Linked DNA regions of Homo sapiens: regions 1, 2 and 4 are each linked to region 3. The links are contacts of gene promoters, found by promoter capture Hi-C in blood cells and fetal thymus (Javierre and others, 2016). All regions are on one chromosome and are shown on one strand. The core of a region is centred on a gene start or on the middle of the fragment in contact, and the rest is flanking DNA. Distances in the headings are between cores, read along the strand shown. Region 1 overlaps SPNS3 (SPNS lysolipid transporter 3, sphingosine-1-phosphate (putative)). Region 2 overlaps LOC105371499 (a long non-coding RNA gene). Region 3 holds the start of GGT6 (gamma-glutamyltransferase 6). Region 4 holds the start of LOC105371499 (a long non-coding RNA gene).

The links. The method cuts DNA at HindIII sites, captures the fragments that hold promoters and counts their contacts. A CHiCAGO score of 5 or more calls a contact.
Region 1: a contact is called between a fragment that was not itself captured here and the fragment with the promoter of GGT6 in region 3, in 4 of 17 cell types (endothelial precursors, M1 macrophages, M2 macrophages and 1 more). The highest score is 7.4, in endothelial precursors.
Region 2: a contact is called between a fragment that was not itself captured here and the fragment with the promoter of GGT6 in region 3, in 1 of 17 cell types (M1 macrophages). The highest score is 5.8, in M1 macrophages.
Region 4: a contact is called between a fragment that was not itself captured here and the fragment with the promoter of GGT6 in region 3, in 2 of 17 cell types (M1 macrophages and endothelial precursors). The highest score is 7.0, in M1 macrophages.

Annotation. Positions count from the first base shown.
Region 1 is chr17:4,450,454-4,453,922 of GRCh38, reverse strand. SPNS3 (SPNS lysolipid transporter 3, sphingosine-1-phosphate (putative)) reads right to left here. Exons shown (of 12, transcript NM_182538.5): 8 at 718-907. Among named protein-coding and RNA genes, the nearest start is that of SPNS3, 18 kb to the right of the region's middle. The HindIII fragment of the contact is 1,406 bases long and covers 562-1,967 here.
Region 2 is chr17:4,661,400-4,664,984 of GRCh38, reverse strand. The region is part of intron 2 of LOC105371499 (a long non-coding RNA gene); the gene reads right to left. Among named protein-coding and RNA genes, the nearest start is that of ALOX15, 22 kb to the right of the region's middle. RefSeq lists an enhancer at 632-801. The HindIII fragment of the contact is 7,116 bases long and covers 1-3,585 here.
Region 3 is chr17:4,558,385-4,561,877 of GRCh38, reverse strand. GGT6 (gamma-glutamyltransferase 6) reads left to right here and starts at 1,301. Exons shown (of 4, transcript NM_001288702.2): 1 at 1,301-1,496; 2 at 2,118-2,320; 3 at 2,422-2,535; 4 at 2,821-3,493. The coding sequence starts at 1,357. The HindIII fragment of the contact is 2,996 bases long and covers 1-1,414 here.
Region 4 is chr17:4,644,361-4,648,148 of GRCh38, reverse strand. LOC105371499 (a long non-coding RNA gene) reads right to left here and starts at 3,140. Exons shown (of 3, transcript XR_001752768.2): 1 at 2,150-3,140; 2 at 1,119-1,199. RefSeq lists a silencer at 1-35. The HindIII fragment of the contact is 679 bases long and covers 1,215-1,893 here.

The sequences.
Region 1 (3,469 bases), core at 15-2,514, 110 kb after region 3:
GATGGGATGTGGATTTGGAACACTTGATATTACCATGATTATTGCCCTTAAAGCAGCGTCCACATTGGCCATAACCAATCTGGGCCTTGCTTCCCTCCTCTGTAACCTGGGGAGAATTGCTCTATTTCTTCTTGGGCCCACAATATGCCCTGGCAATAAATGAGTCCTATTTTCTCAAATTAACACATTAACCCAATGCTCAGAGGACACCTTTTACAGTCAGAAAAGCTCAGGCTCAAATCCCAGTTCTGCCCCTTCTTCACTGTGGAACTCCTGGTAAGCTTCTCTCTCTGTTTTTTTCCCCCAAGATGGAGTCTTGCTCCATTGCCCAGGCTGGAGTGCAGTGGCGCAATCTCAGCTCACTGCAACCTCCACCTCCCGCGTTCAAGCGATTCTCCTGCCTCAGCCTCCCAAGCAGCTGGGATTATAGGTGCCTGCCACCATGCCCAGCTAATTTTTTGTATTTTTAGTAGAGACAGGGTTTCACCATATTGGCCAGGCCGGCCTTGACCTCCCAAAGTGCTAGGATTACAGACATGAGCCACCGCGTCCAGCCAAGCTTCTCTTTACTGATCTGTAAAATGGGGATAACAAGCTCTACTCAGAAGGAGTGATCAACATAATTGTACATAAAGGCCGGGCGCAGCATGAGCCTGTGGAAACAGGAGTTCCTCGCCCCCCAACCCTGTCCCCACCTCCATAGAGGCTCTCACTTACATAGGAGGCCAGCAGGGTGGTCGGGGCCAGGACGAGAGCCAGGTAGAGGCAGGGGGCTGTGGCAAGCAGGCTGGAGGCGCAGATGAGGGGCTCAGCTCCTGGAATGACTTTCTTGTACCTCCTCGCAGCTTCTGCCCCCAAGATGACCCCAATGACGCCGGTCATGATGGTCAGTGCCCCAAAAATCAGGCTGATGGGGAAGAGCACAGAAGGGTTGGTCAGCTGGGTGAGCTTAGCATAGGGACTCTTATCCTGCTCCCAGCCCCAGGTCTAGCCCCTCGGCTCAAGTGCATGATCTGGTGTCTACAGGGAATATGGCTGTGGGCCCCTGACCTGACCCAGAACCTTACCCACCCTCCTCACTGATACTCCCAGGGACCAATGTCCCACTGCTCTCCCCTACCCCCTTTCCTGCCTCATCTCCTGTCTCATCCTGGGGATCCCACTGGCCATGTGGGTGATCACCCTGCACCCCAGGTCCCAGCCTGCCTCATCTCCATTGACCCTTACCCTTTCACCCCCCAAAACTGCCCCACTCAAAATCTGAATTCCAGGGTCCCACCCTGGCCCCAACCTTCTCTCTTTCCAGCTCCCAGTACTAAGAGGAATGGAGGGAAGCAAACATGTATTTACTGAGCCCCTGTGATACACCTGGCCCTTGTCTGGGCTCTCTACACGCCCTCCCTCCTTGAATCCCATCCTTCCACTCCCCGTCTTTGAACCCCTCTCAGGCAGCCCCTACCTGACTTCCGTCCCTTTCCCACCCACTTTTAGAGCCACTTCTACTCTGCTTGGCTTCCCCTTGTACATCCTTCCTGTGGAGACCTGTCCCTCCAAAATAACCTCCACAAAGGCTCCCCAGGAGTGCATTTTGTGGCAGGAGATCTGTGGTGGGAGGAGTTCCAGATCAGAAAGATTTTGTCTCTACAAAAAATTTTTAAATCATCCAGCCTTGGTGGCGTGCACCTGTAGTCCCAGCTACTCAGGAGGCTGAGGCGGGAGGATCGCTTGAGCTCAGAAGTTCGAGGCCACAGTGAGCTATGATCATACCACTGCACTCCAGCTTGGGCAACAATTCCCAGATGGATAGGTGAGCAAGGTGAGGCTGAGAAAAGTCAAGGCCAAGATTACCCAGCTGGTAAATTACAGACCAGGATTTGAATATACTTCTTCACCCTCCTGGTCCATTGTGCAACCTCCAGCCCCCTTTTAAAGGAGCTCAAAGGGGACCAGGCAAGGTGGCTTAAGCTTGTAATCCCAGCACTTTGGGAGGCCGAGGTGGGTGGATCACTTGAGGTCAGGAATTCAAGACCAGCCTGGCCGATACAGCAAAACCCCGTCTCTACTAAAAAAAAAAAAAAATACAAAAATTAGCTGGGAACAGTGGTGGGCACCTGTAATCCCAGCCCACTCAGGAGGTTGAGGCAGGAGAATCACTTGAATCCGGGAGGTGGAGGTTGCAGTGAGCTGAGATCACACCACTGCACTCCAGCCTGGGCAAGAGAGCAAGACTCCGTCTCAAAAACAAAACAAAACAAAACAAATAAAGGAGCTCAAAGGGAACGCTGAGACTGTGCCCACTGTGAACTCTTGAAAACACCAGTCCAACCAGGATCTTTCCAACCTCTCAATAGCTCCCTGTCGTCCTCTGAGCAAGCTCCTGACCAGCACTGATGACTCTGCGGGACTGGTCCACGCTGACCGATGTAGCTTGCCCTCTCTTCTCCCACCCTCACTTTGCACAAATGACTGAGAATTCTCTAAATTCTCTACCAAAAGTACAAAAATTAGCTGGGCGTGGTGGTGTGCGCCTGTAGTCCCAGCTACTTGGGAGGCTGAGGCAGGAGAATCGCTTGAACCCGGGAGGCCGAGGTTGCAGTGAGCCGAGATCGTGCTACTGCACTCCAGCCTAGCAACACAGCAAGACTCTGTCTCAAATGGAAAAAAAAAAAAAACAAAGAAGAAGAAGAAGAAGTGCTTTCTAAACCTTCCCAGGCTTCCAAGCTGTGCGAGGTCTGGCTCAGCCCAGTCAAATGACCCAAATCCCGGATGTATGCTAGCTGCCTCTGAGTCCTGGTCTGGGCTGACCTTGGCAGGTTCTCGAGATATTCATGAGACTTAGGATTGATTATTTAGACAGGCTGCCTGAAAATGCACCCCCGCCAGCCCCTAAGCAGGAGGGGCAGCCAGAGGACATGCCCCAGCTACCAAGCCCTTCATGTTCCCTCCATCCACACAGGGCCCTCCCAGCATCACAGACTCTTACAGCCAAGAGAGCCCTTAAGGATCTGTAAGTTCGGCCGGGCACGGTGGCTCACGCCTGTAATTCCAGCACTTCGGGAGGCTGAGGCGGGCCAGTCATTCGAGGTCAGGAGTCCGAGACCAGCCTGCCCAACATGGTGAAACCCCATCTCTACTAAAAATACAAAAAAAAAAAAAAAAATAGCTGGGCATGGTAGCACATGCCTGTAATCTTAGCTACTCGGGAGGCTGAGGTAGGAGAATCACTTGAACCTGGGAGGTGGAAACTGCAGTCAGCCAAGATTGTGCCACTGCACTCCAGCCTGGGCAACGAGAGTGAAACTCTGTCTCAAAAAAAAATAAATAAAATAAAATAAAATAAAAATAGCCAGGCATGGTGGCGTGTGCCTGTGGTCCCAGCTACTTGGGAGGCTGAGGTGGGAGGATTGCTTAAGCCTGGGAGGTCGAGGCTGCAGCGAACTGTGTTTGTACCACTGCACTCCAGCCTGGT
Region 2 (3,585 bases), core at 836-3,335, 100 kb before region 3:
CAAATGAAGGGCCTGTAGCCAAGATAGGAGTAGTTTGGGGTTGGGAAAGGGAAAGGAAGAAAGATTTAAACAAGCATTTATTGAATACTTATGGTGCACAAGCCAGGGCACCAGGCATTGGGGAAATGCATATTATCCAAGATGCTGCTCCAAGGGAATTCACATGCTGACAATAATGTAGAACATTTGAATGAGCAGTACCTCTGGGGTAAGAAGCAGCTGGATATGTGAGGTGTGTAGTTGAGGACAGGGTTCAGGGCTGGAGAAGATTTGGGAGGGGGCAGGTCACCCAGGGAGGATGACTGGAGTGGAAAGAGACGTGGGCTTAAGTGGAACCACATCACACCACATTTTAGGGGCAAGAGGAGCCCCTTTAAGGAGCGTGAAGAGGACTTGGAGAAGGCCATGTCCCAGAAAAGAACTTCAAACAGGAGGCAGAAAACATAGAAAACATCGTGCTGTTGAGAAATGTCCATTGGATCTGGGGAAGAGTAAGACCTCGTGAAGGAAGGAGAGAAGATGGTGCGGTGAGGTGCCGGCCCTGCTCCGCCGCCACTCACACCTCAGCACAGGGACTGTGGCAACCCAGGCGCCTGCCCTACTTGGTTCCTGAATGGTATGTTCTTTGAATGGTTTCTGTCGGCCAGGGAGCAGCTGCTCCTCAGCCTCTCTATGGTTCCTTCTCAGTCTGCAGGGACAGAGAGGCAGAGCTCCAAGATCTCAGGCTTCTGGGCCCTGGCCACCCCAACAGAGGCAGAGGTTTGATGCTTTCTCTTCAGAAGCCTTAACTGGCCATCCTGTCTAAAACTCCCCTCTTGCCTCCATCTCCCCTCATTAGCTCCTGCTTCCCCCACCCCCCACCTGATATATATGATATATATTTTTGAATATTTAGTTGGTCTCCTCGCAATAGAATGTAAACACCATTAGAGCAGAGACATTGTTGGTTTGTCTGTTGCTGCATCCCCAGTTCCAAATTCCTGTTATGTAGAAGGGGCTCAGTAACGAATGAATGAATGAACCAATGAACAAACGAATGTCTAATTGTGGTTCCTCCTCAGTTCTTTGAGCTGAACGTGGGAGATAAGCAAACCATCACCTGCAGTAGGATAAGCTCTGCAAGAACCCGGGGAGGCTCCCTCTCCAGCGGGGTGGATGTGCATTGCTGGAGCAGATTGAGAAACTGAGTTCTGATGGGAGCTTAGCTGCTCGGGTTCCTCTCACACCGTCTGTTGCAGCCTGCTCCCTTTTGACTGAATGCAACAAAAAAGAATGGGCTGGGGTGGTAGGGCACCCCTAGCATGGCACACCCTCCCCCCACTTCACCCCTTGCAAGCCAAGGAGACTTTGAGGGGCAGTTCTCAGGGCACAGATCCTAGGGAGCCCACAGGGTGCCATTCTTAGGACTTTGTCACTGTGGGGTCTCATGGATCCTCAGTCCCGGGGCCTGGGTCACTTCCACTTCTAGTCTTTGACCTGTCTGGGTCCAGTGCAAATCTGTTTTCAAATACTGGATGAGTGACCTCCCTACAAACTGCCCAGTGGATTTCCCTAAATAGCAACTTATCTGTAGACCCCCTGGACAAGGGTTGTGTGTTAGGCCTTCTTTTCTCCATGTGGTTCCTGGCAAAAGACTCGGCATAAAGAGATATTTGTGCACACGAAGTCAAGGAAATGCTCCCGCATGGGATCCAGAGCTCAAGAGGTTTCTTCTCGTTTTCAGTCCTTTGCAAAGACCCTTGGTCTGCCTTATCTCATGCTGTTCTAATGTTTCCCAACACTTGAACTAAGTGTTGCCCCAGATTTCTTCACCTTTCGGACATCTAACTCCCTGAAGTCTCCCATGTCTTTGGTTTCTCAGCCTCTCCTGTGAAACATGGTGCTGAAGCCACACTTTTGGGTCTTGAACACTAAGAACCTGCACTCATTTACACTCTGACCAGTTCAGTTCCTGCCAACCAGCCCTGCTTTCATTTGTCTTTTTTTTTTTTTAGACAGAGTTTCGCTCTTGTTGCCTAGGGTACAGTACGGTGGCGCGCGATCTCAGCTCACCGCAACCTCCGCCTCCCGGGTTCAAGCGATTCTCCTGCCTCAGCCTCCCGAGTTGCTGGGATTACAGGCATGTGCTACCATGCCCAGCTAATTTTGTATTTTTAGTAGAGATGGGGTTTCTCCACGTTGGTCAGGCTGGTCTCGAACTCCCGACCTCAGTCGATCCACCCTCCTTGGCCTCCCAAAGTGTTGGGATTACAGGCGTGAGCCACCGCACCCGGCCTCATTTGTCGTACTGCAACTACACTGTCTGCTTTTCCACCCAGCAAGCCTTTCATTCACTTGTTCCTTCCGCAACATGCATATAGTACTTCCTGTAGGCCACATGTTGTGCTAGATGTTGGAGATAAAAATGAAAACTACACAGTCACTGTCTCCAGGGGTCTCTCAGTCTCCCGAGAAAGAGAAAGGTAAATGGATAAATACAATGAAGGGAAATTGTTAGGTAATAGAGTACAAATGGGTGCCCCAAGAGAGAGCTGCCAGGTCCATAAAGGGGTTGAGTGTGGTGGGAAGATATAAAGGTATCAGAAGGGTTTGGAGAGTAGTGCCTGTGTTTTGGACAGTCTGAGGGGCAGGTATTCTGGCTAGAAGAAGGTTGGGGAGCTCTACCAATCCTACGTGGCTGGAGACAAAAAGCGGGACATTTTGACCTTTATACTATAGCAAACTAGTATTTCAGCTGACAAACATCTAGAACTTCATTTATTCCCCAAACATTTTCAGATCTGTAGAAAAGATAACAATAGCAGTTCAACAGCTACCCTGAACTTAGACTAACCAAATATTAAAGTTTGCCACATTCACTTTCTTGATATCTGAGTTTTCTTTTTCTTTCTTTCTTTTTTTTAATTTTTATTTATTTATTTTTTTGAGACGGAGTCTCACTCTGTCGCCCAGGCTGGAGTGCAGTGGCGCGATCTCGGCTCATGGCAAGCTCCGCCTCCCAGGTTCACACCATTCTCCTGCCTCAGCCTCCCGAGTAGCTGGGACTACAGGCACCCGCCACCGCACCCAGCTAATTTTTTGTATTTTTAGTAGAGACGGGGTTTCACCATGTTAGCCAGGATGGTCTCGATCTCCTGACCTCGTGATCTGCCTGCCTCGGCCTCCCAAAGTGCTGGGATTACAGGCGTGAGCCACCACGCCTGGCGATATCTGAATTTTCTTTCTTGAACCATTTGAGAGTAAGTTGCACCATCATACCTTATTCTTAAACACTAATATACTCCTGAATATTTATATAGTATTTCCCAAGATTGAGGACATTCTCTTACACAATCACGATACAATTATCAGTCAAGAATTTTAACAAATGAGAGAATACTGTTATCTAATATGTTGTCCATATGTGAATTTTCCCATTAATGTCTTTTATAGCTGTTTGTGAATTTCAGCTTCCTATGTCACCAATTCACAGGTCCCATCCCTGACACGAACTCTGTCCCTTATCCCATCCCTAAGCTCATTCCTTCCCTGATCCCTACATGTATCTATTCATGGCCCTTAGCTGAATCTCTATAGCATGGACCA
Region 3 (3,493 bases), core at 52-2,551:
TCGTGTCACCAACACTCAGATTAAGAAACAACATCTCGGCCGGGCGCGGTGGCTCACACCCGTAATCCTAGTACTTTTGGGAGGCTGAGGCGGGCGGATCACCTGAGGTCAAGAGTTCAAGACCAGGCTGGCCAACATGGTGAAACCCTGTCTCTACTAAAAATACAAAAAATTAGCCAGGCGTGGTGGCATGTGCCTGTAATCCCAGCTACTCGGGAGGCTGAGGCAGAAGAATTGCTTGAACCCAGGAGGTGGAAGTTGCAGTGAGCTGAGATTGCACCATTGCACTCCAGCCTGGGCAACAAGAATGAAAACTCTGTCAAGAAAGAAAGAAGAGAAAGAAAAGAAAGGTAAAGGAAAAAGGAAAGGAAAGAAAGGAAGGAAAGAAAGGACATCTCCAGCATTCCAGAAACCCCCTGGTACCTCCTCCAGTCACTATCTGACTTCTAAGGGCAGACTGTTGTTGCTCTTTTGTTGTTGCCTGTTTGTGTACTTTGTGTAAATGAAAGCATATAGCGTGCGCTGTCTCCTGCCTGGCTGCTTTCCCTCGTCCTTATGCTTGTCAGACCTGTGTATATTATTGCATATAATTGTAGATCACTCACTCTCTTTGCTGCAGAGTGGTCCATTGTGACTTACATCATTCATTCTAACGATAATGGATGTTTGGGCACTTTCCAATTTGGGACTGTTACAAACAGCACTGTTTTGCAACAAGTCCTTGATGGGAATCCCAGAATGAATTTAGAAATGTTGGTTTCCAGGCTGTGGCGCTACCTTCTGGACAAGAGTCGCAAAACACGCACAGGGAGTTACGAACCAAGTTGCTCCTCAAAGAAACCCAGACCCAGAGTAGCCACAGGCTGAGCCTTGACCCCGGCCAGAGACCAGACACCCCTACGCCAGAACCTAGTCACGTGCAGACTCAAGCACGTGGGAGCTCTGACCCAAGCCACCGTGAAACCGTAGCTCTAATTCAAGTCCACAGTCCCTAGAGTCCCAGGTGGGTGGGATCCATGGGCTACATCCCCCAAGGGGAGGAGCCCAGCAGGTGCCCTGAGTATCAAGGTTGTGGCATTAAGGCTGAACTCCTTCTCGACCTCACTGAGCTGTGGCCCCTTACAGGCAGTCACCCCGGGAACCCTGTCGCGAGAGCTCCTCGGGCCTTGTGTCCTAATGGGGCAGGCTCACATGCAGCCTCCTTGGCCCCGTGCCCTGCCCAGACCTGTTCTGGATTCCACCCCCACCCTTCCCCAAGGTCGCTGCCACCTCCCACCTGCCAGGCTTGGGCAGGGCCTCTGAGACACAGCCGGAAAGGCTGGCAGGCAGGAGGGCTGGGGCGAGCACTGGGGGGCCATGGAGCGGGCAGAAGAGCCCGTGGTCTATCAGAAGCTGCTGCCCTGGGAGCCAAGCTTGGAGTCGGAGGAGGAAGTGGAGGAGGAGGAGACATCAGAGGCGCTGGTTCTAAACCCCCGGAGGCACCAGGACTCTTCCAGGTAAGTAAGGGAGGGGTCTGGGCACCAGGCTCCCCAGGCTTGAGGTTGGCAAGTCCCTCTCTCTGGAGCCCCTCAGGGGGACCAGGCGACTCCCCGCTGGGTTTAGCTCCAGGCACTGTACGGTCAATTTGGGGGAAAACCCAGGCTGTAGCCCGAGACTTGGCCTGACCCAATCAAAAGTCTGTGCATCTGGAGGGACATTTGTACCAAGCCAGCCTCTGTCCCATCTGCTGCTTTGTCAAAGGTCCCCAGCCCCCAAGTCCTGGTGCAGGAGGCACCTGCTGGGCAGGTTGGGGCCTGACTACGCCTGGCTGGGCCTGCTCCCCAGCCCCTTCTCTCCTGCCTGCCACACCCCACTGGGCCTCCCTCCCACCTGAGTGGACTCTGCCCCACCAATCTCCCCTCCAGAGGCTCCCTCCCTAGCTAGGCTCAGTTTCCCCAGATGCTTTCCCATCCCCATGTCTGCCCAAGATGCACCCGCTGCCAAGAAGCCCTTTCTCCTTGGCTGACTTGTGCTCCTCTTGCTAAATCAAACCTTTTGGGAAATATTCCCTGGGGTCTCTTGGGGTCCTTGGGCATCCCTCTGTCCCAGCCGTGGCTCAGGACACCCCCCCTCTGCAGGAACAAGGCTGGCGGGCTGCCCGGAACCTGGGCCCGTGTAGTGGCAGCCCTGCTGCTGCTGGCTGTTGGCTGCTCCCTGGCTGTGAGGCAGCTCCAGAATCAGGGCAGGTCGACAGGAAGCTTGGGCTCTGTGGCCCCTCCACCCGGCGGACACTCCCACGGCCCTGGCGTATACCACCACGGTGCCATCATCAGCCCTGCAGGTCAGTCAGTGCTGGGGGCGGCTTGGGGAGGGGAGGGTCAGGGGTCACCAGCCCAGCCTAGCCCCCCTCCTTGCTGCATGACAGTGCCTTCCTTGCTGCAGCCACATGCTCCCACCTAGGCCGAGAGCTGCTTGTTGCCGGGGGCAACGTCGTGGATGCTGGAGTTGGAGCTGCATTGTGCCTGGCAGTGGTGCATCCTCATGCCACGGGGCTAGGTCAGTGACCCCTGACCCCAGACTGCAACCCCAACCCACAGCCTGATCAGTGACCTGGAACTTAGGGAGTCAGTAGCACTGACCTCAAGACTGCTAAGTGAGCAGGACTTAGGGTTTGGGCAGCAGTCCAACCCCAGGCTATGACCCTTGAGCCCGGGTCTGTGGAACTTTGACCTCAGGCCTGGTCAGTAACTCCTGATCCCAGGCTCAGTCAAGGGATCTTGACTGAAACAAGTCAGTGACCCTTGACCTGCGGCTGCTGAGGGACCCCTCTGTCTCCTGCAGGTGCCATGTTTTGGGGCCTCTTCCACGATAGCTCCTCAGGCAATTCCACGGCCCTGACATCAGGCCCAGCACAGACCCTGGCCCCCGGCCTGGGGCTGCCCGCGGCTCTGCCCACCCTGCACCTGCTGCATGCACGCTTCGGCCGCCTGCCCTGGCCACGCCTGCTAGTGGGCCCCACCACGCTGGCTCAGGAGGGCTTCCTGGTGGACACACCCCTGGCAAGGGCTCTGGTGGCTCGGGGCACAGAAGGCCTCTGTCCACTACTTTGCCATGCTGATGGGACACCCCTGGGCGCTGGGGCCCGAGCCACCAACCCACAACTGGCAGCTGTGCTTCGCAGCGCAGCCCTCGCTCCCACCTCAGACCTTGCTGGGGATGCTCTACTGAGTCTACTGGCGGGAGACCTGGGGGTGGAGGTGCCCTCGGCTGTGCCCAGGCCCACTTTGGAACCAGCAGAGCAGCTACCTGTGCCCCAGGGCATCCTGTTCACCACCCCCAGTCCCTCAGCTGGCCCAGAACTGCTGGCACTGTTGGAGGCAGCCCTGCGCTCCGGGGCGCCCATCCCTGACCCCTGCCCACCGTTCCTGCAGACTGCTGTGAGCCCCGAGAGCAGTGCCCTGGCCGCCGTGGACAGCAGCGGCTCTGTGCTCCTTCTCACCTCCTCGCTCAACTG
Region 4 (3,788 bases), core at 305-2,804, 86 kb before region 3:
TGTTTTGAGACACAGTCTCGCTCTGTTGCCCAGGCTGGAGTGCAGTGGCGCAATCTCGGCTCACTGCAAGCTCCACCTCCCAGGTTCAAGCCATTCTCCTGCCTCAGCCTCCCAAGTAGCTGGGATCACAGGTGCGCACCATCATGACTGGCTAATTTTTGTATTTTTAGTAGAGATGGGGTTTCACCATGTTGGCCAGGCTGGTCTCGAACTCCTGACCTGATCAGGTGATCCGCCTCAGCCTCCCAAAGCATTGGGATTCCAGGCGTGAGCCACCGCGCCCAGCTGAGAAGCAATATTTGACATTCTCGACACCACTTTGACAAAATAATACTTGTAAAGTACGATATTAACATATTTTTTTGATTTTGTTTTTTCAGAGACAGGGTCTCCCTCTGTTGTCCAGGCTGGAGTTCACAGGCACAATCATAGCTCACTGCAGCCTCGAACTCCTGGGCTGAAGTGATCCTTGCATCTCAGCTTCCCACACAGCTGGGATTACAGGCAAACACCATCATGCCCAGCTAATATTTTTTATTTTTGTTTTTATTTTTTGAGATGGAGTCTCGCTCTGTCACCTAGGCTGCAGTGCAGTGGCCACGATCTCGGATCATTGCAACCTCTGCCTCCTGGGTTCAAGTGATTCTCATGCCTCAGCCTCCCAAGTAGCTAGGACTATAGTTGCCCACCACCATGCTCGGCTAATTTTTGTATTTTTATTAGAGACAGGGTTTCATTATGTTGGCCAGGCTGGTCTCGAACTCCCAACCTCAGGTGATCCACCCGCCTTGGCCTCCCAAAGTGCTGGGATTACAGGCGTGAGCCACCGCACCCGGCCAATTTTTATTTTTGTAGAGACAGAATCTCACGATGTTGCCCAGGCTGGTCTCCTGAGCTCAAGTGATCCTCTCGCCTCAGACTCCAAAAGTGCTGGGATTCCAGGTAGGAGCCACTGCACCCAGTGGACACATGTATCTTTATGATCCTGGTACTTTCATAATCTCAGCTGGGGCTTACTGCACTTGAGCTCAGTTTTGGATTTTTGAGTTTCAAAAACCCAGGCATTAGGAGGCCCATGGAGAAGCAAAGTCCACATCCAGGGTCTTCTCTGCACTTACCTTGGAAATATCATCTGATGTCAGTGTCCTGGAGCCATATCGGGACAGAGAGGGTACACATAAGTGACCAGTGGACATCACCTGCATAGAAAAGCTTTGTTCGTTGTCCAAGCCTGTCGCTTTGACTGCAGCCAATGTGTCACTTATTGACTGGCCCTCTCCTGTCCCTGCTCAGCTCATCTGAACCACTTCAGGTGGATGCCTCTTCTTTCAACATCAACATTATTTGTCAGTTGCTTTGCTGACTGATCCGTTTTCTAACAGTACTTCTATGGACTTTACAAAGTCTTCTAATGTTTCAAGACTTGAAATTTCACTCTGTAGCCAGTTAGATGGACAAAGGTAGCTGGCATTAATAAAGCAGGAAGAACCGGGTGCAGTGGCTCACGCCTGTAATCCCAGCACTTTGGGAGGCCGAGGCGGGCCGATCACCTGAGCTCAGGAGTTTGACACCAGCCTGGGCAACACAGTGAAACCCTGTCTCTATCAAAAATACAAAAAATCATCCAGGCATAGCGGCAAGCGCCTGTTTTCCCAGCTACTCGGGAGACTGAGGCAGGAGAATTGCTTGAACCTGGGAGGTGGAGGTTGCAGTGAGCCGAAATCGCACCATTGCACTCCAGCCTGGGTGACAGAGCGAGACTCTGGGTCAAAAACAAACAAACAAACAAACACAAAAAAACAAAAGCCACAAAAAAAAAAAAGGAGGAAGAGGTGAGTGAACTAATTTTGAAAGTGGTCAGTTCATTGAATATTTTTTGGCTTTACATAAGCTTGGGAGTTTGAGGATTCAGAAAATAAGCATGCAGACCGTATTAGTTATCTATTTCTGCTTTACAACGACCTCAAAACTCAGTGGTGTGATGGCACATGCCTGTGGTCCCAGCTACTTGGGAAGCTGAGGTGGGAAGATCACTTGAGCCTGGGAGGTGGAGGCTACAGTCAGCTGTGACCATGCCACTGCACTCCAGCTTGAGTGACAGAGCAAGACCCTGTCTCAAAAACAAAACAAAACAAAAAACACCCATTACCTTACACAGTTTTGGGAGTCAGTTGGTTCTAGTTCAAGAGTCTTATGAGGTTTCAGTCAAGAGATTGGCTGTAGTCATCTGAAGTCTTAACCGGGGCAGGAGGATCTGTTTCCAAGATGGCTGCCCCACGTGGTTGGTAGTTGGAGGGTTCAGTTCCTCACTGGCTCGTAGCAGGAGGGCTCAGTTCCTTGCCACGTGGACCTCTCCATAGAGTTTCTTGAGTGACCTCATGACATAGTAGTTAATTTCTCTCAGAGAAAGCAGAACAAGAAAGAGGGAGAGTGGGGAGGGAGGAGACGGAAAGCCCTAATGTCTTTTAGGACCTAGCTTTGGAAGTCACACACATCATTTCATACTGCATTGGCTTTGCAGACCAACCCAGACACAATGTAGGAGACTATGGAAAGGCATGCATATCAGGAGGTCGGAATCACTGGGGGATGTTTTAAAGAATGGCCACCACGAGCATGCCCTCTGAATTCTGGTGATTTACATTCCTTCCACATGCAAAATACACTCGCTCCCTCTCAAGCTACCCCAAAGTCGAATCCCATTATAGCATCAGCTCAAAGTCTAGAATTTCATCATCTAAATCAGGTCCATGTATAGATGAGATTTCTCAACTGTATTACCTTAAGTATACTTCCAGAATACAATTCCTCCTCTTCTTTTTTTTTTTCTTTTTTAAAGAAGTTTCACTCTGTTGCCCAGGCTGGAGTGCAGTGGCACGATCTCAGGTCACTGCAATCTCTGCCTCTGGGGTTCAAGCGATTCTCCTGCCTCAGCCTCCTGAGTAGCTGGGATTACAGGTGTCCACCACCATGCCTGGCTACTTTTTGTATTTTTAGTAGAGATGAGGTTTCACCATGTTGGTCAGGCTGGTCTTGAACTCCTGAACTCAGCTGATTCTCCCACCTCGACCTCCCAAAGTGCTGGGATTACAGGCATGAGCCACCGTGCCTGGGCTCCTCTTCTTCTGAAGACCTGTAAACTAAAGAGAAAGTCATCTGACCCCACCCCCAACATACAATGTTGGAACAGGCATAGGCTAACCACCATAGATATCCCTATCCAAGACGGGAAGAAATGGCCTGGGTCTTTCCTCTCCCATCACAACTGCATCATAATCTAACCTCACTCAGTCTACCCACAAGTTACTGTGAATTACTTTTGGAAGCCTTCCCAACTCTTCAATCACACTTTTAATCTGCAAGAAAATTACTGGGTTTGTGCCATTTCTATGGAAGATGAATTTTACCCACCACATTTTGATTTTTCTGAATTTCACTTATAAAAAAAACCTTTTGGTTGGGCACGGTGGCTCACACCTGTAATCCCAGCACTTTGGGAGGCTGAGGCAGGCTGATCACATGAGGCCAGGAGTTCGAGACTAGCCTGGCCAACATAGCGAAAACCCATCTCTACTAAAAATACAAAAAATTAGCCGGGCATGGTGGCAGGCGACTGTAATTCCAGCTACTCGAGAGACTAAGGCAGGAGAATTGCTTGAGCCCGGGAGGCAGAGGTTTTAGTGAGCCAAGATCGCGCCACTGCACTCCAGCCTGGGCGACAAGAGCAAAACTCCTTCTCAAAAAAAGAAAAAAAAAAAAAGCTCAACTTTACTCATAATAAGGGTAAT